Regions from separate parts of the Homo sapiens genome. Here all the other regions are linked to region 3. Evidence: promoter capture Hi-C in 16 types of primary human blood cells and fetal thymus (Javierre and others, 2016). All regions are on one chromosome and are shown on one strand. The core of a region is centred on a gene start or on the middle of the fragment in contact, and the rest is flanking DNA. Distances in the headings are between cores, read along the strand shown.

What was found. Contacts are between HindIII fragments. The CHiCAGO score rates a contact against its expected background, and 5 or more counts as called.
Region 1: a contact is called between a fragment that was not itself captured here and the fragment with the promoter of RIPK2 in region 3, in 2 of 17 cell types (total B cells and neutrophils). The highest score is 8.8, in total B cells.
Region 2: a contact is called between a fragment that was not itself captured here and the fragment with the promoter of RIPK2 in region 3, in 4 of 17 cell types (monocytes, total B cells, M0 macrophages and 1 more). The highest score is 8.9, in monocytes.
Region 4: a contact is called between a fragment that was not itself captured here and the fragment with the promoter of RIPK2 in region 3, in 2 of 17 cell types (M0 macrophages and neutrophils). The highest score is 9.1, in M0 macrophages.
Region 5: a contact is called between a fragment that was not itself captured here and the fragment with the promoter of RIPK2 in region 3, in 2 of 17 cell types (total B cells and naive B cells). The highest score is 10.1, in total B cells.

The regions. Positions count from the first base shown.
Region 1 is chr8:90,940,755-90,943,545 of GRCh38, forward strand. NECAB1 (N-terminal EF-hand calcium binding protein 1) reads left to right here. Exons shown (of 13, transcript NM_022351.5): 10 at 32-144. All of the region lies in intron 1 of LOC105375634 (a long non-coding RNA gene), which reads right to left. Among named protein-coding and RNA genes, the nearest start is that of C8orf88, 43 kb to the right of the region's middle. The HindIII fragment of the contact is 7,402 bases long and covers 1-2,791 here.
Region 2 is chr8:91,051,671-91,054,370 of GRCh38, forward strand. No RefSeq gene overlaps it. Among named protein-coding and RNA genes, the nearest start is that of PIP4P2, 12 kb to the left of the region's middle. The HindIII fragment of the contact is 4,163 bases long and covers 1-2,700 here.
Region 3 is chr8:89,756,566-89,759,265 of GRCh38, forward strand. RIPK2 (receptor interacting serine/threonine kinase 2) reads left to right here and starts at 1,251. Exons shown (of 11, transcript NM_003821.6): 1 at 1,251-1,668. The coding sequence starts at 1,496. It overlaps PARAIL (palmitic acid regulated anti-inflammatory lncRNA), which reads right to left and starts at 1,146. Exons shown (of 5, transcript NR_125822.1): 1 at 480-1,146. RefSeq lists a silencer at 997-1,116 and an enhancer at 1,657-1,726. The HindIII fragment of the contact is 1,742 bases long and covers 66-1,807 here.
Region 4 is chr8:91,021,760-91,024,459 of GRCh38, forward strand. All of the region lies in intron 1 of PIP4P2 (phosphatidylinositol-4,5-bisphosphate 4-phosphatase 2), which reads right to left. Among named protein-coding and RNA genes, the nearest start is that of PIP4P2, 18 kb to the right of the region's middle. The HindIII fragment of the contact is 3,484 bases long and covers 1-2,700 here.
Region 5 is chr8:90,959,796-90,962,564 of GRCh38, forward strand. It overlaps C8orf88 (chromosome 8 open reading frame 88), which reads right to left. Exons shown (of 6, transcript NM_001190972.2): 5 at 947-1,053. Among named protein-coding and RNA genes, the nearest start is that of C8orf88, 24 kb to the right of the region's middle. The HindIII fragment of the contact is 3,382 bases long and covers 1-2,769 here.

The DNA of each region.
Region 1 (2,791 bases), core at 105-2,604, 1.2 Mb after region 3:
AACGCAGTGACCCTCGCCCCTTCCTTGGCAGCACATCATGCTTGTGCAGCGGCAGATGTCTGTGATAGAAGAGGACCTGGAAGAATTCCAGCTCGCTCTGAAACACTACGTGGAGAGTGCTTCCTCCCAAAGTGGATGCTTGCGGTAAGTGCTCCGACTCCTGCACCTTAGGCCTTTGGCAGCCTGGGAATACAGTGAAGGCATTTCTTACTTTAGACAAGGCTGGGGGTCTAGAAGACAGATATTTGAGAATCCTCACATTAAATTATACAGAGCATTCCACCTGGGTGATGTCATTTGCTGCCTTTAACTGAATGTTTTCTCTTTAATCTTTAAACCCCGTGTCGTCTAATCTTTAAACCCCGTGTCGTCTGATCATTGGGGCACCAAGTAAAATGAAATAGAACAACTTGAATGAAGAGACTGAATTTCAAATAAGTTGAAATTCCCTTTTGCATCCAGGCAGCCCACACTCTGATTTAAAATCATCTCTGGTAGATGAGGCGCCAACTCTAGGACATCTAGCTGTGATTGCTCCCTTGGCAGTACGCCCTGTGGCCTAATGACCATTTCAGCCATTAGGAAATTGCAGGCATCCCTGAAGTCATGATTTCAGGCCTTGGTCATTAAAAGAAAATGAAGCAGCAGCAGATCTTTTCTTTCCTCTTTCCATGGGTACCACCCAGCTCAGGCTTCGGATATCTCAAGCTACTAAAATATACTATTCCTCATCTTCAATTTTTTCACTCCAACTGGTTCAATAAATAGTTACTATAATAATTTTCTGGAAACAGTTATCATAGAATTCCCTTAACTGGGAACCTAAAGTAACTCTCTAATGAGTATCTTATCAAAGGCTAGACATTTGTCCTGACTCTATATTTAATCCTACTGACAGACCCAGGAATCCATATCACTACTATTATTTGTTCTCCCTCATCTAAACACTCTGCCTCGGTGATGCACAGATAGAATTTCTGATATAATCTGTTTGTTCCCCACTGTGCCTCAGACCTGGCTATTCTTCCTCTCAGAAATGTGCACCCAGCTGCAAGTCTCTGCCAGCCCATGCACTGCCTCAAGTTCAGAGCCCAGGTCCAAATTCATCTGCTTTTAGAAAACTTCCACAACCAAGTCTAACCCTACCTTATGAGCTTGCTTAAACTATATTTCATAATGCTCTTCAAATGTTGCTTTGGGAAGGTTTTTAGAAAATGTGTGTGTGTTTGTGTATGTGTGTGTACATGTGTGCATAAACAGATACTTCATGTCTCTGGGTGTTTTGCTTTTCCTCTCAGTGTTCAATTAATTATATTTTATTCATACCCCAGCAGAATATTTCTCTAGCTAAGAAGTCTGGCTCTGGAAATAAACATGGAATTTTACTAGCTTTGTGGTTTTGAGAAAGACCCTCACTGGCTCTAAGCCTTAGTTTCCTCCTCAAGAGGCTCATGAGATGGTTGGGAGGATTCAGTGAGACAGTCCATATGCAGTGCTCAGCACAATGCTTCCCATCCACTGAAGACGTGAGCTGAAGTCACTATTGCGTTTACTACTGTTTCCTGGTTGTCTGGGTGGCTGACCTCCTCTCTAGAGTATGAGTACAGTACTTCCTCAGTGCCACTAACAGCTCATCATCTTCCAGTAGTGCCTTTGAAACAAGAACACAGGAAATGCTGTGTTTCCATGATTATTTTTATTATTCTATTTCACGCCAGACTCAGAGGGCACAAATCAAAACCCCATTTTAGTCCTTTTTACTTCAGTGACTCAAGACTTGCAAAGGTGGGAATATGTGTAGTTTTTAAGAGCCCACTCATTTGAAAATAAAATTGAATATTTAAAAATTCAGGGTGCAGTGGCTCACGCCTATAATCCCAGCACTTTGGGAGGCCGAGGCAGGCAGATCACGAAGTCAGGAGTTCGAGACCAGACTGACCAACGTGATGAGACCCCGTCTCTACTAAAAATACAAAAATTAGCTGGGCATGGTAGCATGTGCCTGTAATCCCAGCTACTCAGGAGGCTGAGGCAGGAGAATCGCTTGAACCCCGGAGGCGGAGGTTGCAGTGAGCCGAGATCGCGCTACTGCACCCCAGCCTGGATGACAGAACGAGACTCTGTTTCAAAAAAAAAGAAAAATGCAAACAGTACCTATATATACACCGTTCACAGTGTAAACTTCCCAAAATAGAGCTCAGTAAACTCTTTTTAATGAGGATACAGAGAAGATAAAGTCTATTTCAGTGTATTACAATCTCCAGGGATTGAGTGCATGTTTTATATTTATAAAAAAGGCGCACAAGTTTATTTTTTAGGTTCAGAAACACTACTTTAATGGGTGTTGGGAAAATGACCTCGAGCTACTAGAACAGCCCCAGGGAAAGGGAAACAGGCTGTGGGGGAGTGAGAGAGTGGATAGATTTGTGCCGCCTGCTGCAAATTCCATTCTCTCAATAACCACAATAAATTGCTCCATCAGCTCCTGCTGTGAAGTAGAGGAAAGGAGAGCATCTTTTTCCTGTAAGATAGATTTTCAGCCTCTCTGTTTACTTTGCAAGATTGGTTTGTTTCATACAATTCTTCGTTCACTTCTTATTGCTGATTTTTCAGGTAATTTCTTTTACTGGAATTATCAAAATGTAGACTATATCAGATGGAATGAGCCTCAGGGAATCACTACACCCATATGGAATATATATGGTATAGATGTTATGCCAGTGTGTCTGTCTACATTCAATTTTTCAGTTGTACCAGTTAATCAAATTCAATTTTCTACCTGTATCAATTG
Region 2 (2,700 bases), core at 59-2,558, 1.3 Mb after region 3:
GGGAGCACATTGCTTTTTACATGGAGGGAATAGGATCAGCTTCACAGACAGTGAAGCAGAAATGTGGACGGTCAACAGCAAAGCCCTGAAGAGGAAGCATGCTTGGTTCGTGTAGGAACAGCAATGAAGTCTGTGTAGCCCGATGAAAGGGAGCAAGGAGAGAAGGGGTAGAAAGTAGATATTAGACCAGAGAAGTTTGTCATGGACTGCGATGGGGTAGATCACATGGGGCCAGTTGGGCTTTTCCTCTGAGATGAGAAAACTATAGAGCTCTTAAAGGCTTTTGAAGAGTGACCTTATTTGACATAAGTTTTAAAAGGATTACAATGACTACTATGTGAAAATCGGATTATAGGTAACAAAGGAGTGGAGGTTGAAAGAGGGATCAGATTCTGGACATATTATGAAGCTAGATCTAACATGATTTGCTCATCGATGTGATGTAGAATATGAAAGACAGAAATCTTTGAATACTTTTCTGATTATTTATTCTTGATAATTTTTTTGAATTGGAAGCCTAGATCAAAGACTATACCCATTTAAAAGTCTTTCAGATATATACTGTCAAATTGTCCTCTGAAACCTGAAAAAACATTTTTACACATTTTTTTTTGAAACAGCGTCTGAGACTATTTCTCAGCAGCATAGGAAAATAACATGGTATTATCATTATTTTTAATATTGACAGTTTAATAGGGAAATATGTTTTTGTATCTTAGTTTTATCCTTAATGATTCTGAATATTTAATATTTTTATTGGTCAATGGTATTGGCCATTTTTTTTCCACTAGGGAGTTCATCTATTTATCATTTAATATTTTTAATTATAATTCTTATTTAAAATTTTACTTACTTATTTATAAAATCCATTCTCTTTTCCTCCTGGAAACCCAGATAAGCTACATTTCTCAGCCATTCTTGCACTTAGGGGTAGTCATATGTCCAAATTCTGGGTAGTGGAACATCAGTGGAAGTGATGTAGACTACTTGTAGACCATGTAGGCCATGAAAACCTTCCTTGTATGATCCTCCACACTCTTTTCTACTCAAAGCTAAGTGGAAAGAAAGAACCCCAAAGGAGCCCACAGGAGTCACATGGTGAAAATGGCACAAGAAGGGAGGATCTTGGCAAACTAAATCACTACTTATAGGAGAGTTGCCCACTAAGAACACCGGTTTTGAAGTGTTGTAAGAAATATACTTTATTGTGTTAAGTCACTGAGATTTCAGGGTTTATCAATTACAGCAGCAGGTGTATTTCCTAACTATTAAAGAAATATATAGAAAGAATTGTAAGAATTTCTTTACCTTCATTAATTAAATATGTGGACCTTTTGCTCCATGGAGAAATGTAAAACTTTCTTCTTTGACTGGACACTGATCTATGTTTCCTGGTACTGAGAGACTGACCCACTCCTTTTACTTCCTTCTTTAAGCGAACAGTTCCAAGAACAGAAGGTAATGGAGTCAAACAGGTCAAATCACTCTGACTCTCACTCTCATGTTCTCTCTCACAGATACCTCTTGTCTAAAGGATTGCAATACCTTCTGACCAAAGCAGACAAACTGGCAACATTGTTAATTTGTCATAGAAAGCCTCTTTGTTTCCTGTTTTCCAGAAAATACTCTCTTTGGATATTCTCCCTGCTGCAACACCCTGTATGAAGTGCCCAACACCTGCAGTCTCAGACAACTTTTGAAAGTTATAAACCTGTAATAAATAAGGCGAATATTTTTTCCTAGTTTGTAGTTTCTCTTTCAATGTTTGCTGTGTTTAAAACATTCTTACTGTCTATGTGGTGTCTCTGTATATAATCTTTCTTTAGATTCTCTGTGATTTACAGCCCATGAAATGTCAAACTGTCTTCTTTTCTGATAGAATTCCTGTCCTCATTCTTTCTTGCTTCATGTTAAGCCCAGAGTACATGATACTCTTAAATTAAATGGCATTCAGATGTGTGCCATTCTACTCATTGTTCTTTCACCTTTAGTGAAAGTGTGGGTAGAGTGTTGTTTCCCACTTGGTTCCTCTCACACCTATTGAACATTCACGCTGAAGGCCGCTCTCCCTCTTTGGTCATCTGACACTTGATATGCCTCATGTCACTCAGTCTTTCTGAGGGATACCGCCTTGTTTGCCTGGACAGTTTGTTACCAGCCTCACTTGTCACATATTCTCACTGATCTCACCGATCACCCTAGCCACATTAGTCAACACTAACTAGTCAGACTAGCTAAACTGATCCTACTCAGCTGTCTCTAACAGTGGCCTGCATAATGGGTGGGGATTTTAATTTACCAATTACATATATATATATATATATATATGTATTATATACATTAGGAAGATGTAGTAGTTGCCGATGGCTGCCATAACGACTTACCCACAAACTTAGTGTCTTAAAACAATGCAAATTTGTCTTATAATTCTGAAGGTCAGAAGTCCAAAATGGTTAACCTTGGTCACTGGGTTAAAATCAAGCAGTCAGGAATTCTGCATTCCTTTGTGGGATATCTAGTGGGGAATCCATTTTCTTACTTTTTCTGGCCTCAAGAGACCATTAGCATTCCTTACCTCCTGGCTGACTCCCTCCTCCATCTTCAAAGCCAACAATGAAGCATCTTCAAATCTCTGACTCTGACTCTCTTGCTTTCTCATTTCACTTATAAGGACCCTTGTGATTATTTACATGGATAATC
Region 3 (2,700 bases), core at 1-2,500:
AGATCGCGCCACTACACTCCAGCCTGGGTGACAGAGCACGACTCCCTCTCGAAAAGAAAAAAAAAAGCTTATTAAGCAATAAAGCACAGAGTATCAGACCATATGTTTAGTGCTGAACATTTTATTATAAATGATCAAAAATGTTTAACATACTATTGTTTACAACCTCCCACTACTGTAAAATCTAACATTGCTACTTTCATTTCAGGTAATGCAAAAATACAAGAAGCATTAGCTGTCTGTAGGCAGAAATCTGTTCGAGTCATTCCTTATTACTGAATCCCTAGAATTAATTAAACATCTAGTATGGAGTTGGTATTGTATATAACATTTGCACTCACGTCTTACAAAATAGTCATCTAAGTAGAAAGGTATTCAAGGCAGAAGGATGGAAAAACGTTTGCAGTCTTTTTTGGTTGGCATGAAACACTGACTGCATTCCTCCCAGATTTATAAGAAAGAAATATTTGCAGTCTTACCTGGAGTTAGATGGATGGACTCTCTCAAGGTTATTTTTCAATCTCTGCACATACATACTTATGGAAGTAAGAAAGAAGAGGGAGAAAAGGCAGATCCCCCATAACAGCGGTTAAACACCTGAACTTGCTCCACTATGACAGGGTTTATCATCCACCTCTCAGTCCTCAAGTGGCTGGAAATATGGAAATTGGAGTCCAGGTAGACAGGTGAGTGTACAACCTCTTAAGTGTGGAGCCCTCGGAATTCACAACACTCCCCAAATCGCTTCCTGCGCAGGCGCGGAGTCGGAAGGGAGTCGGAAAGCAGACCCCGGTGCCCCCTAATAAAGCCCCCAGCCGGACGCTGCCGCTACCGGGGTTTGGCAACTTCCGGAAGACCTGTGGCCCAAAGGAGAATCCTGTTGGGGGAGGCGGGGGCCGGTGGTCGCTAACCAATCCGACACCCGCCAGCAGGCTGAAGAGAGGGGCTTTCCCAAAAGGAAAACTTTCCCAAACCTGGGGGATGGGAAGAGAAGACAAAAGGAGCTCCCTTTCCCACTTCCCAGCCGCCCGTCCCAGCCCTCGGCCTCCGCTGCGCGACCCGGGCGGAGGATCCCGGCCGCAGGCCGAGGCGAGAGCCAGGCGGGAGGGCCGCGAGCGGGCTGCCCCTCTCCCCGCCTTGCCGTCCGCCGCTGACGTAACCTGCGAAGTTTGGGGAGGGAGGAGCTCGGGCGGCCGGAGCTGGTCGCTGCGCGCGCCGGGGGGAGGGCCGGGGCTGCGAGAGAGGAAGCTCTTTCGCGGCGCTACGGCGTTGGCACCAGTCTCTAGAAAAGAAGTCAGCTCTGGTTCGGAGAAGCAGCGGCTGGCGTGGGCCATCCGGGGAATGGGCGCCCTCGTGACCTAGTGTTGCGGGGCAAAAAGGGTCTTGCCGGCCTCGCTCGTGCAGGGGCGTATCTGGGCGCCTGAGCGCGGCGTGGGAGCCTTGGGAGCCGCCGCAGCAGGGGGCACACCCGGAACCGGCCTGAGCGCCCGGGACCATGAACGGGGAGGCCATCTGCAGCGCCCTGCCCACCATTCCCTACCACAAACTCGCCGACCTGCGCTACCTGAGCCGCGGCGCCTCTGGCACTGTGTCGTCCGCCCGCCACGCAGACTGGCGCGTCCAGGTGGCCGTGAAGCACCTGCACATCCACACTCCGCTGCTCGACAGGTAGGCAGTCACTGGGGTTCCCTGGAAGAGCCCTCAACTCCTGCATCCCCTCAAGCCCCCTGACAAGCGGGCTCTAGAGCCCAAATGGCAGTGACCGCTTGGGGCCGGCCTCACCTCGTCACCTCTAGGGAGCCCTTCAAGCTTGGGAGATAGGGAGCACCCACCCTTCAAGCTCTGGCACCGTAGGGAGCACAGGCTTCTCTGGAGATGCAGCAGTTGCATTCCTCCACACATCTCTCCATTACCCTTTCTCTCCTTCCCTCTTACTCCTAGGCGTTCTGGCTCCGTACTCCAAAAATCAGCAATCACTGCCTAACTCTAAACGCTGGGTTTACTGAAATTGATGTGTGTTTATATATAGTGGGTGTGGGTTTTGTTTGCTTTGTTTTTTCCTTATTTTTGAAATTGGGCTGTAGGGCTGCACTGTCCAGTAGGTAGCTCTTAGCCACAGGTGGCTATTGAGCACTTGAAATGTGCCCGTCCGAATTGAAGTGTGACCTAAGTGTAAAATACCAGAGTTCGAATGCTTAGTATTTATTAAAAAAAGAACTTATAATATTTTATTATTTGTTTATTGATTATATGCTGAAATAACATTTTTGATATCTTGGGTTAAATATAAGATTAAAATTCATTTTATGTGTTTCTTTTTACTTTATGTGGCCACGAGAAAATTTTAAATTGTATGTGGTGGTGTTCACATTATATGTTTATTGGACCGCACTGCTTTAGAATCAAGGATGTTTTGCTTCTTATTGTTTTTATTTTGGTTTTGGTTTATTATGTGTTGTCAGGAACGTTTTATATCAAACTCAATACTAGCAGTTCAGTTTCTCCCAGTCTCAGTTTCTCTCACAGGGAAGATTAAGTAGAGGAAATGTGTGCTATTTTTGCCACAATAAATTGAACCAAAAGACTGTTAAATGGCCAGAAATTGTAAATGGCTTTCACTTATTGGTTTGTACAGGTTTTAAGGGAAGGTTAGCATTAGTTTCTGTTTTCAGAAGAACATTACAACCGCGTGCCATAGAC
Region 4 (2,700 bases), core at 32-2,531, 1.3 Mb after region 3:
AAGTGATCTGATTCCCAGGAAATAAAAATGGTCGATGAAAGCAAAGTTTTAAAATTGCTTATCCATACATATAAATTATGTAGCTGTCATGCTCTGTCTTTATATTGGAACCAGTATAATGACTGCTGGCTATGACAAGAATAAAACAAGGTGTTGGAGGAAGTCAAGAAGAAACAAAAATGAACCTAAGAAAACTAAACTTCTCAGCATGGAACAAAAATGGGAACCATGCTAATTTCAGACACAAAACAAAAATAAAGTAAATATAACAATTTTTAGTCTCAAAATTTACCTACCATTAAAAATGTAAGAAATGCACCAAAGTGTTTATGAGTAAAAAAATGTAGTATGTGGGATTAAAAACTTCAAAAACCATAACAACAACCACCACAAAAAGAATGGGGAACCAGATGAAACAAGTAGCAAAATGTTGATAACTGATGAATATAATGACATGGAAGGTCATAGTTTCACACTACTTTTGTGTATGTTTGAAAATTCCCATAATACAAAGACACACACACAGTGTTTTTTTTGAGAGTCCTAAGGTTGACTCAGTGAGTGAGTGAAGGGTGGAGGCCCACTTTCAAAATCAAGTATCTACCAGAAGTGTATATTTGTTACAAAAGTCTGAGAAAAGGAATCCTGATATACTACTCTGGAATGGGATTTCTAAAGGAGACTGCCTAACCCCTTTCTGTAACTATCTCAACTACAGGAATAGAAGACTTTTCCAAGGTAAAGTTTTGTCTTGGGACATTTAGAAAGGGCCACACTCTAACATATGATTGAAGCACGAAAGAGAACTGGTATCTCAAGAGGCTTCTGTAACACTATAAAATATAATCACAATAGCTAAGCATAATAAGAGCTATTTTTGAAATAAAGGTTTTCTATCCACTGTATTAGGTCCTAAACTTTGTGATATTTTAAAAAGAATTAGAGCATAAAACATTTTGGTATGTTTAAAATACACATATTTCTACCTGATCCTTGGGTTATAATATAGGATTTTTTTCAGACTGCTAAGGATTAGCAACAAGTGGTATTCGTTCAAATGATTCATAAGACAAATTTCTGCAGCAGCCAAGGCTCTGAAAGAGGCCACTTTGAAATGACGATATGCTTATGTTTCTGGGAGGCTTATAACAGAACACTGCCAAACACTGAAATTCAAAAGAAGCTGTACATGTCTTAAATTATAAAAATAATTTTAAATCCATGAAAAGAATTTGAGCGTGATCCAGAGTGACCTGTAATGTATTAATCAAGAAGAAAAAAACATGTTAAAGAAACAATGAGTCAACAATATACTTAAGGTCTTGCAATTTGCAGATTACTTTGTCAGATCTCAATAAAGACATTATTCTTGGGGAAAGAATATGTACCTCACTAGAAATTCAAGACACACTGCCTGGTATATGATAATGAATATTATTTTAATAATTATTTGCAGTAGCATTATTAACAAAAGTTGCTTCCTCTCTGGCCTTTTCCTTGAGTTGTACAGTAACATTACATAGTTCTCTCGTAATCCCAGGTCTCTATCTTACACAGTATGATAGAAAGGAAACTTAAATGCAAGACAGTTTTATAAAGAAAACAAGGGCATTAGGGGGAGAGGAGGAAGTGACATATTGCTACACTACATAAAAGGACACCAACCCATACACTCCTCAGCTTTGCTCAAAGAAATCTCCTAAGAAAATTTCAGAGGGTGATCTTAACAATCATTAAAAGGGCATTAGAGCCAGTAAAACCCTGTGAATTTTTCTTCTAAGATTTGTACTATATAATTTTTAATCTGCCAAAAAAAAAACGCCTTCAATGACAGAAATATGCTCAAATCTACTCTTTTGGAGGCTTGGGAAGTGGAGGGACATGGACAGAACAAGCAGTGAAGATTATAAATCTAATATAAGAGAGACCATAAGCTCCACGAGGCCAGGGGCACATCTGGTTTGTCCACAGCTACTTCACCAGCGCTTGTCATAATGCCTGGTCTATGATGATGCTTACTAAATGTTTATTCAATGGTTGAATTAATTAATAAATCAGCGAGTCACTAAAATTTATTAGACATATCTATTTGTCTTGGAAAAATAACACCAAGTATTAGGTTGCTGCAAAAGTAACTGCGGTTTTTGCTACGACTTTCAAATAGCAAAAACCGCAATTACTTTTGCACCAACCTAATACATTAACCCTACTCTCCTTGCAGAGGAGCTAAGGTTCTAGCAGGGGAGTGCAGCTTGATGGAAAACAAGGGCTTCTTTTATATAGAAGACAACTCTCTCCAAATAATGCACTGAGAGAGGTGAAGTAGTCAGGGGACACTGGCCTGGCCCACCAGATAAATGGAATCAATCCAAGAGATCAATAGAATGACAGATGCTGCAGCCTAATTGCCACAATAAACAGTGCTTCCTGGCCTTTCATTTCAATGTTCTATCCATTACTTCAGCCTTAAACTGATTTAGACAGATTATTTCTTGTACTTTTGGCCTTTCCCTTTCTCTCAGATTTTACCTCAAGGAAACATTTACTTGTAGCTCCATCTCCTCTTATATGGGACTTGTAATTCTGGAGATTCCACAGTTAGTAAACCTACAATAATTAGAATAAGATTATTAATTTAAATGATTAATAATTGGATTATTATAGATTAAACCTATAATAATTAAATTAACTTAGATTTAT
Region 5 (2,769 bases), core at 4-2,503, 1.2 Mb after region 3:
CATTTCAGAAGAGTCCTAGCTGCCTTTACCTATATAAAGGTATTTACGAAAACTCTAATAGGAAGTTAAATTCCAGTCAAATGTAAGTAGAGACCACAAAGAATGGGAATCATTTACTAAAAGCATAATGAGAGAAAGGTATCATACTCAGTAATCTCATGCATTATTTTATTAATCCTAACAGCCAGAGATTATCATCCTTATCAGCAATTGCAAAACTTATCATCCTTATCAGCAATTCAATGAGGTTAAGTGACTTGTCCAAGTTCGAACTACCGGTACACAGAATGGAGCTACAATTTGAAGCCATGTCTGATGACAAAATCCATGTCCTTTCCAATGAATATCCTAAGAGATGCATGTATGTATTTATTATGTGTATTTATTTAGATGGAATTTGATAAGGTAACACAGAAATATAAAGGGCTAAGAATAGCAAAGACATGTTAAAGAAAAATACATGAGATGATTTGTTATAATGTATAAAAAGACTAATTGAACAGAATGGATAGCCCATTAACAGACCATGCATACATTGCCACAAAGATGTCAGAGAAGTACCCTTTCAATAAATATTTTTAAAATGACTGGATATCTATGTAGAAAAAGGTAAAACTTGATGCCCACCTCACATCATAGAGTAAAATTAATTCCAGGTGGACAATATAATTTAATTGAAAAAATAAAACTTTTAGAGTATGGGATAATATTTTCATGACCTTTCCATTAAAAATATTTCTTAAACAAAATACAGCTATTCCATTCTATTTTTTGAACAGAGTTACTTTATAATAATTGGTTATATCTTTAGATTTTTGTAGTTTTCTGAATTACTTATATCTTATAATAAGGAAGGTTAAAAATCTAGAGGTAGAGTCTGATGAAAATGTTAAAGAAAAATATTTTGTAATATAATATTACAATACAAACTTAGAAAACTACTTACTGGTTTTTGCAGTACAATGGGATGATCAGGCAGAAAGTCTGGTTTTTTTCTGCAGATGGAAACACTTGAGAGCTTCAACAGGAAATCTCTGCTGTATTTAATTCTCTCTGTAGATATTAAACATCAAATATAATGTTAGGAAATGTAGGGCTGTCTAGATCACTTTTTGGTTCATTTCTTTCTGGATGTCCTCTATTCATTATATAAAATGATGAGTCGTGTGTCTATGCAAAAGAGAAGGAGAAAAAAGGCTTTGACAAGCATCTACTGCCTCCAATTCTCCTTTTACATAGAAAGAAAACCAAGTAACCAAGGAAACAATGAAAGAAATATAATTAAGAAAATGGGAAATGCATGGCTTTTTTCATCTGGTTATTCAGGTCTAGTAAAATGATCTTGTGTAAAATATAACCACAGTAATAACTATTGGGCAATTCAGATCTGCCAAAATGTTACTTTAATGAGTCTATCAAGTCTCAATCAATACTAAAAACTTAACACAATAAAAATAAATTCAAGAAACATTTATTGTACATCTTACTATGTATCAGGAACTGTGCTAGGTAATAATGAATAGGACCCAAGATAGGGCCCCTATCTTCAAGGAGAACAATGTTTCAAATATCTGCAGATTTCAAATCAGAAATGATTACCAGAAACAATCACCAAGACAGATTATATGCTGTCCCAGAAGACAATGGAATAATATTTTTAATGTGCTAAAAGAAAAGAACGGTAACCCAGAATTTCATGTCCAGTGGGGGGGAAAAAACCCTCAGAAATACATGTGAAGGAAAGACATTTTCAGATAAAGTAAAACTGAAAGAATCCATCACTAGCAGATGTGACCTTCAAGAAATGCTAAAGGAATTTCTACAGGCTGAAGGGAATTATACTAGATGGAAACTTTACTGTTCAGAAATGAAGAGCAAAAGAGATGGTAAATAGGTGGGTAAGTATAACAGATTCCTTTTTTTCTCTAAGTTTTATTTTAAGAAATATGTATTACTGTTAAAAGCAAAAGCCACCACAGATAATATATAGATGAAGGGTGTGGCTATGTTTCAATACATTTTTATTTATAAAAACAGGAATTGGTCTGTAAACCATAATTTACTGACCCCCTAAACATTACATTAAAGACTACAAATTGACAGAGTGGATTTAAAAAATAAGAAGACCCTATTATATGCTGTCTGCAAGAGACACATATTAAATATAAAGGCATATAAGTTGAAAGTAAATGGATATAAAAAGATACACATGAAAAGACTAGGAATAAGAAGGGTTGAATTACTATCCTTACATCCTATCAACTAACAGGTAACAATTATTAATGTGTTGTTCCTAATACACAGTTCTGAAATACATCGAGGAAAAATTAACTTACCAAAAATTTTGGGTCTGGCTTCTTTCATTTAACATTTTTGAGGTTCATCCTTAATCTGGAACATTCTACGTAGCCAAACCATCAATCAAGTGTGAGAACAGAATAAAGATATTTTCAAATATGCAAACTCAAAGAATTCACCAACCCAATACCCTTTTTTCACGAAACTCCTGGAGAATGTACTTGAGCAAAATGAGGACATAAATCAATAAAGAAGAAAACATAAAATTCAAGAAATGGAGGTAAGTGAAGTCAGGGAAAATAGCCAAGTAGAGAACTCTAAAAGTCTTTCACTCCACAAAAACAACAAGTAAGCTCATAAAAACTGTCAGAATCAACTTTCTCAGAACCCTGGACTCTAACCCAAAGCCTGTAAAAACCAGGGGAATACTTAGTGAAGAAAAAAAAATAGCTAAATTTGGGAAAAATTTTG